Regions from separate parts of the Homo sapiens genome. Here region 1 is linked to region 2. Evidence: promoter capture Hi-C in human tissues and cell types (Jung and others, 2019). All regions are on one chromosome and are shown on one strand. The core of a region is centred on a gene start or on the middle of the fragment in contact, and the rest is flanking DNA. Distances in the headings are between cores, read along the strand shown.

What was found. The method cuts DNA at HindIII sites, captures the fragments that hold promoters and counts their contacts. A contact is called where the count stands out against the background at its distance.
Region 1: a fragment that was not itself captured here is called in contact with the fragment with the promoter of TCEA3 in region 2 in 3 of the 25 tissues and cell types used here (H1 embryonic stem cells, IMR-90 fibroblasts and heart left ventricle).

What each region holds. Positions count from the first base shown.
Region 1 is chr1:23,331,596-23,336,818 of GRCh38, forward strand. It overlaps HNRNPR (heterogeneous nuclear ribonucleoprotein R), which reads right to left. Exons shown (of 11, transcript NM_005826.5): 5 at 1,923-2,036. Among named protein-coding and RNA genes, the nearest start is that of HNRNPR, 10 kb to the right of the region's middle. The HindIII fragment of the contact is 4,351 bases long and covers 1,792-5,223 here.
Region 2 is chr1:23,423,264-23,427,852 of GRCh38, forward strand. It overlaps TCEA3 (transcription elongation factor A3), which reads right to left and starts at 1,485. Exons shown (of 11, transcript NM_003196.3): 1 at 1,302-1,485. The coding sequence starts at 1,370. LOC124903875 (a long non-coding RNA gene) reads left to right here and starts at 1,603. Exons shown (of 3, transcript XR_007065535.1): 1 at 1,603-1,898; 2 at 2,915-2,997; 3 at 4,449-4,589. The HindIII fragment of the contact is 4,937 bases long and covers 1-3,478 here.

The sequences.
Region 1 (5,223 bases), core at 2,717-5,216, 89 kb before region 2:
AGAATCGCTTGAACCCGGGAGGCAGAGGTTGCAGTGAGACGAAATTGCACCATTACACTCCAGCCTGGGCAACAAGAGCAAAACACAAAATAGCTGGGTTTGGTGGCATGAGTCCATAGTCCCAGCTACTGGGGAGGCTGAGGCAGGAGGGCTGCTTGAGCCAGGAGGAGTCTGAGGCTGCAGTGTGCTATGATCACACCACTAAACTCCAGTCTGGGTGACAGTGAGACTGTTTCTTTAAAAAAAAAAAAAAAAAAAAAAAAAAAAGGTCCCTGGTGTAACAGGTTACTTTTCAGCACACAGTTTTCTCCATTTGAAGGATGAGCAGGAGTTCATGACCCGCCTGGCCAACTTGGCGCAACCCCGTCTCCACTACAAATAGAAAAATTAGCCAGGCGTGGTGGCAGGCATCTGTAGTCCCAGCTACTCGGGAGGTTAAGGCAGGAGAATCGCTTGAACCTGCGAGGCAGAGGTTGCAGTGGGCTGAGATCCCACCACTGCACTCCAGCCTGGGCGACAGAGCGAGACTGAATGGAGAGAGGGGAGAGGGGAGAGGGGAGGAGAAGAGAAGGAAGGAATAGAACAGGCTAGCAATAAGGCAAATGGAAAAAGCTTTAAGAAGACAGATGGGGAAAGAATTGCTTCTTTGTTCAAGTATGGACTAACATACTCAATCTTTTATCTGATTCCACATCCTTCCCTTGTGCAATCCACGCCCATCAATAATATCTCTCCATAAATACTAAGTCCCTTCTGAGTGATAGGTGAGGCAAGGGAGAGGACAAGCACAGTTCTAAATTATTGATATTAAAAAAAAAAAAACTTGGCCAGGCGCGGTGGCTCACGCCTGTAATCCCAGCACTTTGGGAAGTCAAGGCAGGTGGATCACCTGAGGTCATGAGTTCAAGACCAGCCTGACCAACATGGTGAAATCCTCTTTAGTAAATACAAAAAATTAGCCAGGTGTGGTGGTGCATGCCAGTAATCCCAGTTACTTGGGAGGCTGAGGCAGGAGAATCGCTTGAACTTAGGAGGTGGAGGTTGCAGTGAGCCGAGATTGCACCATTGCACTCCAGCCTAGGCAACAAGAGCAAAAATTCCATCTCAAAAAAAAAAAAACAAAACCAAACCAAAAAAAAAACAAAACAAAAACAAAAAAACTTGGTTGGGCACTGTGGCTCATGCCTGTAATCCCAGCACTTTGGGAAGCCAAGGCCAGCAGTTCAAGACCAGCCTGGGCAACACAGTGAGACCTGGTCTCTACAGAAACAAAAACAATCCCCAAAAAGCAAAAACCAAAAAAAGCAGCCGGGTGTGGAGGCTAACGCCTGTAATCCCAGCACTTTGGGAGACCAAGGTGGGTGGATAACTTGAGGTCAGGAGTTCGAGACCAGCCTGACCAACATGGTGAAACCCCGTCTCCACTAAAATACAAAATTAGCCAGGTGTGGTGGCACGCACCTGTAATCCCAGCTACTCAGGAGGCTGAGGCAGGAGAATCACTTGAACCCAGGAGGCCGAGGTTGCAGTTTGCTGAGACCGTGTCACTGCACTCCAGCCTGGACAACAAGAGCGAAACTCCATCTCAGGGGAGGGGAAAAAAAAAGACAGAATAAAGCAATTGCGTCTTCCAAATAACTTTACTCCAAGTATCTAAAATGGTGTGCTGCTAGTAGCATGGTTTTAGCAACCTGTTCCAAAAACTCTATATTATATTCCTATATAAAGTGTTCGGGTATCTACCAGTCACAAGATTATCCATCCTCATGATGGCAGCAAAATACAAATGGATATCTAAAAACTAACAACAGCTACACTTTGAAAGGGATCAAGAATTTTCCCCCGTCTGTACAGTATCTGCATAGTAGATAAAACACTTTCCAAACTGGAAAGATCTTGGTAAACTGCTAAAGAACACTTACCTCCGTTCCAATTCCAGGTTGCACGCCAGAGTACACACTGTCTGGTGGAGGACCACCATACTTCCTCTGTCCTGTGGTTACATCCAGAGTATAACCAGTTCTCTCAAGCAAGGCCTAGAGATAATTATACATCTCTTTATACTTGAGTACTAAATCTCACACACAAGCATCAGTGTATTAATCTTTTCCAAAAAGGACTCCAACTTCCTAGGAGATATATTTTTATGGTTAGGTAAAAAAAAAAGTCAAAATTCGCACTGGTTCCCCATACATGTTTCTACTGGTGAGTCTTTTCAAATAAAATGTTCTCTATCCTTAAAAAAATTAGCACAAGTCTTACCTCCTTCATGCAGCTTCTCTCATTTACTATTACTCACATCCATTTCTCCCTACTGTCTTTTCTTCTTTTTTTTTGAGATGGAGTCTTGCTCTGTTGCCCAGGCTGGAGTGCAGTGGCATCGTCTCGGCTCACTGCAACCTCTGCCTCCCGGGTCTAAGAGATTCTCTTGTCTCAGCCTCCCAAGTAGCTGGGATTACAGGCATGTGCCACCACGCCCAGCTAATTTTTGTATTTTTAGTAGAGATGGGGTTTCACCATGTTGGCCAGGCTGGTCAGGAACTCCTGGCCTCATGAGATCCGCCTGTCTTGGCCTCCCAAAGTGCTAGGAGTACAGGTGTGAGCCACTGTGCCCAGCCCCCACTGTCTTTCTAGTGTACTTTTTTTTTTTTTTTTTTTTGAGACGGAGTCTCGCTGTGTCACCCAGGCTGGAGTGCAGTAGCGCGATCTCGGCTCACTGCAAGCTCCGCCTCCCAGGTTCACGCCCTTTTCCTGCCTCAGCCTCCCGAGCAGCTGGGACTACAGGCACCCGCCACAACGCCCGGCTAATTTTTTGTATTTTTAGTAAAGACAGGGTTTCACCGTGTTAGCCAGGATGGTCTCAATCTCCTGATCTCGTGATCCACCCGACTTGGCCTCCCAAAGTGCTGGGATTACAGGAATGAGCCACCATACCCAGCCTCTAGTGTACTTAAAGTTCCATCATTTAAGCTTGATTTTGTTTGATCCTTCTGGTTTGTACTCCTGCCATATCATAAGCTCCACAAGAATCAGGTAATCAGACAAGAATCATACAGTACAGACTAAAAATATTTGGCAATTACCAAATAAGTATAGTCAGGTTCCGAAAAATAAGTAAAATCTTGTGTTTCCTGATTACCAACCTTCCTTACATTCTATTAGGTATTAAGAGCAATCATAGAAAAGAAGATAATCTCCTTGCTCTCAGGAATTTATGTTATAATTGAGGCAACATCTATATAAAGAGCTTAGAGAAGAAAAGATACAATGGTAAACAAAGAAACACAATCTACCTAGAAAAGAGAAATTTACACTTCAGTTTTTTTGGTTTTTTTTTTTTGAGACGGAGTCTCGCTCTGTCGCTCAGGCTGGAGTGCAGTGGCGCGATCTTGGCTCACTGCAAGCTCCGCCTCCCGGGTTCACGCCATTCTCCTGCCTCAGCCTCCCAAGTAGCTGGGACTACAGGCGCCTGCCACCACACCCGGCTAATTTTTTGTATTTTTAGTAGACAGGTGGCCTCACCGTTGTTAGCCAGGATGGTCTCGATCTCCTGACCTCGTGATCCACCCGCCTCAGCCTCCCAAAGTGCTGGGATTACAGGCGTGAGCCACAGAGCCCAGCCAGGTTTTTAAAATTACACAATGTCAGAACAATAAGAGACTTTAGATATCATCAAGTTCAGTGAACACTAGGATTTCACAGGGATGCATGCCTTCGGCCTTCCATTCTTCTACCTTTGACTGAAACAGAGCCATAAATGTAATATAAAACAGGGGTCCCCACACCCCTGGGCCACAGACCCGTACTGGTCCATGGCCTGTTAGGAACCGGGCTGCATAGCAGGAGGTAAATAGCGGGCAAGTGAGAACAAAGCTTCATCTGTATTTACAGCCGCTCCTCATCCTCCCTATCATTGGCATTACTGCCTGAGCTGTGAGCTCCACCTCCTGTCAGATCAGCAGCCGCATTAGGTTCTCACAGGAGGGTGAATCCTATTGTGAAGTGTGCATACAAGGGATCTAGGTTGCATGCTCCTTATGAGAATCTAATGCTTGAAGATCTGTCACCATCTACCAGTATGCCCAGATGGCACCATCTAGTTGCAGGAAAACAAGCTCAGGGATCCCACTGATTCTACATTATGGTGAGTTGTATAATTATTTCATTACATATTACAATGTAATAATAATAGAAATAACTTCAACATACAATAACTATTTCTAATTAAAAAGTCTATCACAGCCGGGCGCGGTGGCTCACGCCTGTAATCCCAGCACTTTGGGAGGCTGAGGCGGGCGGATCACGAGGTCAGGAGATCGAGACCATCCCGGCTAAAATGGTGAAACCCCGTCTCTACTAAAAATACAAAAAATTAGCCGGGCGTAGTGGCGGGCGCCTGTAGTCCCAGCTACTCGGGAGGCTGAGGGAGGAGAATGGCGTGAACCCGGGAGGCGGAGCTTGCAGTGAGCCGAGATCCCGCCACTGCACTCCAGCCTGGGCGACAGAGCGAGACTCCGTCTCAAAAAAAAAAAAAAAAGTCTATCACAGGCCGGATATGGTGGCTCACACCTGTAATCCCAGCACTTTGGGGAGGGTGAGGTAGGCAGATCCCCCAAGGTCAGGAGTTTGAGACCAGCCTGGCTAACACAGTGAAACCCCGACTCTACCAAAAAACAAAAAAAATTAGCAGCCAGGCACGGTGGCTCACGCCTGTAATCCCAGCACTTTGGGAGGCCGAGGCGGGCGGATCATGAGGTCAGGAGATTGAGACCATCCTGGCTAACATAGTGAAACCCTGTCTCTACTAAAAATACAAGAAAAAAAAAATTAGCCGGGCATGGTAGCAGGCACCTGTGGTCCCAGCTGCTCAGGAGGCTGAGGCAGGAGAATGGCGTGAACCCAGGAGGCAGACCTTGCAATGAGCTGAGATCGCGCCACTGCACTCCAGCCTGGGCGACAGAGGGAGACTCCGTCTCAAAAAAAAAAAAAAAAAAAAAAAAAAAAATTAGCTGGATGTGGTGGCGCACGCCTGTAGTCCCAGCTACTCAGGAGGCTGAGGCAGGAGAATCGCTTGAACCCAGGAGACAGAGGTTGAAGTGAGCTGAGATGAGCTGAGATGGCGCTACTGCACTCCAGCACTCCAGCCTGGGCCACAGAGTGAGACTCTGTCTCAAAAAAAAAAAAAAAAAAGAAAAGTATGTCACTACAGCAAGACACGAGTAT
Region 2 (4,589 bases), core at 235-2,734:
TAGCAAGCACAGGTCTGAGTCCTACTAAGGGCTTTACATCTCTGTCTCATCTCTCCAATCCTCACCGCTGCCAGCAGAGACAAGAATCCAGTGACATCCCTTCTCCAGAGGCAGATAATCTCATCTCTTTCTTACAGATGAAGAAACTGAGGCTCTGGCCTTTATATGGACACCAACTCATGACTGCCCAGTGTCCACTCTAGGGCTCCCTGCCACTTCATGGTTCCAGTGACCCTTCCCTGGGCCTTGGCTACTCTTCCTGGCTCTAAAACTTCCCTTAGTGTCTCTTCCTTTCCCAGGCTCCTAAGTGTCCTGGAAATGCAGGTGGCTGCAGCACATGGCTACGGATGGTGGGAGGAAGAGGACCCTGGAACAGGAACGGGAGGTGGGAAGGGCATGCTCACCAGGCTCCCTTTTTTTCCCTCCCAGGGTGAGCGCAGGCCCTCCAGGACCCAAGGCCAAATTTGCTCTGGCCAGGCGACCAGTCGGCCGCCAGCCCCAGGCAAAGATCACGGGGAAGATCAAACATTAACTTCCAGCTGGGTCTGCGCTCTGGCCAGGACCCTCCGGTAGGGCTGTCAGCCCTGCTCCCAACCTCCCGCCGAGCCCGCTCCTCCCTCCGCCCTCGCCCTCGCTGCACAGGCCTCCAGCCCGGCCCCCTTCCCCCGCCCCGCGGGCCCCCGCACCTGTTCGGCCCCCGCCCGTCCGGGCCGCACCCCAAGGCCAAGGAAAGGGAAAATTGCCAAAAGAACCGCTCCTGACGCACCAAGCGGTGGGGTCGCAGGATCCACGGCCTTTTACTTCTCTCCCGCAGACCCACTCCGGGGTGCAGGGATGCAGCTCAGTACCCCCGTCAGCCCAAGTTTCTCTGCCACTTCTCGGGCCACCCGGATTTGCCCCCCGCCCCGCCCCCGCCATCGCCGCCGCTCCCCGGGCTTTGCACACGCCAAGCCCTGGGACTCCCAAAGTCCTTTCCCACGTCCAGCTCTCTTCGCCCGCTTTCCTGGGCCCTGCACTAGCTGCCCAGGGTGAACCCTACACGTCCAAAGGGACGTGCACAAGTCGCGCCTCCGGGACCCGCACGATCCCCCTGGCGTCCTGGGCCACGCACACGCCCACCTCGAGGTGCTCAGCAAGGGTCCCCAAGGGGCCTTGGGCCCTGCACCAGCCGCTCCTCCCTCGGGTCCCCGAGTCCCGTACGCGCCCCCATGGCGCCCCGCCAGTACGTCCCCACCCCGGAATCCGGGGCTTGCCCGCGCCTCCCGGGGGCGGGGGCCGTGGCCCAAACTCTGCAGCCTCACCGTGTTCTTCCTGGCCACCATCTTCTCCAGCTTTTTGGCGATCCTCAGCAGCTCCTCTTCCTGGCCCATGTTGGCCCGCGACGCCCGGCGGGGCGAGGGGCACAGGGGCAGCAGTAGGGCCTCGGGGGCAGGAGGCGCGAAGGCGGAGGGCGCGCAACCCGCGCGGGCCCCAAACACACACGACACACACGCCCGGCGGGGGCGGGGCTCTCCCCACCCCCACCCCCCCACCGCCCGCCTCCCAACTGTGCGGGGGAGGGGTGGCGGGCACTAAATATAGACTTCAAGGACTTGCCCGGGCACTGATTGCCCGCGCCGGCCGATCGGGCCTCAGGGGAGGGACGAGGCTGAGAGAGGGGACCCTCCAACTCCGGCCCTTCCAGGGGCGCCGGGGGACCGAAGAGAGATTTGGGAAGGAGGGCTCTCTGGCGAGCTGGGAGGCTGTGACCTGGCCACAGGCGGCGGTCGCGGCGCGGAGGGCGCCCGAGGGTGTCCCAGGGGCCCTGGGAAGCGTTCTGGGCTCCCGCGTCTCTGCACCGTTGCATCTCAAAGCGGGAGGACACAGTTCCGCGCCTATGCCCAAGTGGAGGCAACTCGGTGCGCTCGAATCCCGTGTGTGTGTGTGTGTGTGTGTGTGTGTGTGTGTGTGTGTGTGTGTGTAGATCACTAAATCCAGCTCTGCTTTAACCTGCACTCACTCCATCGTGCACACGGCCTGTGCATGCCACGTGTATCCAGGCTCCTGTTTGCCTCTGTCTACCTAAAACTTCCTTTGCTGGCTGTTTTGTTAGTAAGGCTTTGCATTTTTAACAAGCTCCTATGTGCTGGGGGTGCTGCTGGTCCCAGAACTACACTCTCGAGTAGTGAGAGCTTATCGGGGAGATTCTTTTTATTTTTTTGAGACAGGGTCTCCCTCTGTGGCTGAGGCCAGAGTGGAGTGGAGCAATCAGGCTCACTGCCTCGACTTCCCCAGCTCAAGTGATCCTTTCTGCCTCAGCCTCCTGAGTAGCTAGGACTACAGGCGTGAGCCATCCATCATGCCCAGCTAATTTTTTAATTTTTTGTAAAGACTAGGTCTTACTACGTTGCCCAGGCTGGTCTGGAACTCCTGGTCTCAAGCGATCCGCCTGCCTTGGCCTCCCAAAGTGCTGTAATTACAGATGAGATTCTTTTTTTTTTTTTTTGAGACGCAGTCTCGCACTGTCGCCCAGGCTGGAGTGCAGTGCCACGATCTCGGCTCACTGCAAGCTCTGCCTCCCGGGTTCACACCATTCTCCTGCCTCAGCCTCCTGAGTAGCTGGGACTACAGGCGCCCGCCACCACGCCCGGCCAATTTTTTTGTATTTTTAGTAGAGATGGGGTTTCACCATGTTATCCGGAATAGTCTCGATCTCCTGACCCCGTGATCTGCCTGCCTCGGCCTCCCAAAGTGCTGGGATTACAGGCGTGAGCCACCGCACCCCGCCGAGATTCATTCTTAAGTGCACCAAATTTTGAGAAATATTGATCCAGGTGCAAGGCTGCCAGGTCAGGCCAGTATCCCCTCAGTGGGGTTGGGTTTGGAAGTCATCTTAGTGGAGGGGTGGAAACACAATTGTGCCTATCTTCCCCAGCCATGCAGGGATCTGCCTTCCTGTGGAATGATCTCCAATGATCTTCAAGTATCTCCTGCAGACCCAGTTCTCTTGCTAAATAAGTGAGTTTAATGGACAGAAAATGATCTTCCTGTGATGGGGGTGGGGCTCAGGAACCTGGAGGGAAGGCATGAAAAGTGGTCCACAGTGTGTGGGAGCTGGGGTTGGGGTGTCGAGTGAAATCTCCTGATTTTCCTGAGAGAACCGCATTTCAGCTTGGGTCGCAGAGGCAGCTTGGTGTGGACACCTATCTTCTAATTGCTATGTGACGGGGATCAAGGTAGGACAGAGTGGGTTTTTTTCATCCATTCAACAAATACGTATTGAGTGTCCAAGCAATGAACAAGACAGACCCAGTCCCAGAAAGCTTGAGACTCAGTCTATGGGCAAGAGAAACCTTAAACAAAAACAGACATAGTCAATTAATGCATTTATCATAGCTGGGGTGAAGGGCAGGAAGCAGTGGAGGATAGCTTAAGGACACATTTGAGGGGACCTGCACTATTTAGGGTGTCAACTTCTCTGAAGAAACGAAGTTTAAACTTTGGGCTGAAGTACACAGTGGCCGTTGAGGGGAGGAGGAAGAGTGTTCACGGAAGAAAGGAAGAGGCATTCAACATATATTTATGGAGCACCTAATATGTGCCAGGTAGTTCTTGTTCTGGACATCCAGAGAGGAACAAAACAGTCCTCCCCTCTTGGAGTTCCAAATGTGCAAAGCTTAGGGATGGGAGGGTGCCTGGCCTGCCTGACAGTGTTGGAGGAACTGAAAAATTGGCGTGGCTGCAGCACAGAGGTGAGGAGTGTGGGGAGAGGCAGTGGGTGGGACCTGAGCATGCAGTGCCTGCCGGTCACATTTGGGAAGTTAGACTCTAATGGTTTGGGATTCTCTGGGAGGCCTTTTGGCCAATCCCAGCCAAGCCCTTCTGGGTTGAAGAGACTCAACCTCAGCAGCCTGAGGCTACTTAGGATTGCCTTATTAAAAAAAAGGCCAGGAGCAGTGGCTCATGCCTGTAATCCTAGCACTTTGGGAGGCCAAAGCAGGAGGATTGCTTGAAGCCAGGAGTTCAAGACTAGCCTGGGCAACAGAGAGAGACCTCGTCTCTACAAAATATTTTAAAAAGCTGGGCATGGTGGCGTGGGCCTATAGTCCCAGCTACTCGGAAGGCTGAGGCAGGAGGCTTGCCTGAGCCCAGGAGTTCAAGGTTACAGTGAGCTCTGATTGTGCCACTGTACTCCAGTATGGGAGACAGAGCCATCAAAAAAAAAAAAAAAAGAGAGAGAGAGAGATTTTTCTCAAACTTCCACCCAGTCACCACCCTGAGATGCGCGACATCAAAAAAAAGTTAAGACTCCTAGAATGTCAGGGTATGAAGGCCCCTAAGAAAACATGGAGTCCAACCTCTTTATTGTATAGATGGGAAGACCGAGGCCTAAAGAGGGTGATGATTCTCTCAGGGTTGGACCCTGTTGATACCATCATATCCCCTCTGCCTACCTGTCCACCCTACAGGTCACTGGAAGATAATTCCTGGACACACCTTGGACAGCTCCCCACATTTCTCTATTTGGAGCTTTGGGGTGGTAGGAAATTGATGCCCTCAGAAAGGACACCCCCAACCAGCAAGAAACCAGAGTTGGTGGAAAACATCAT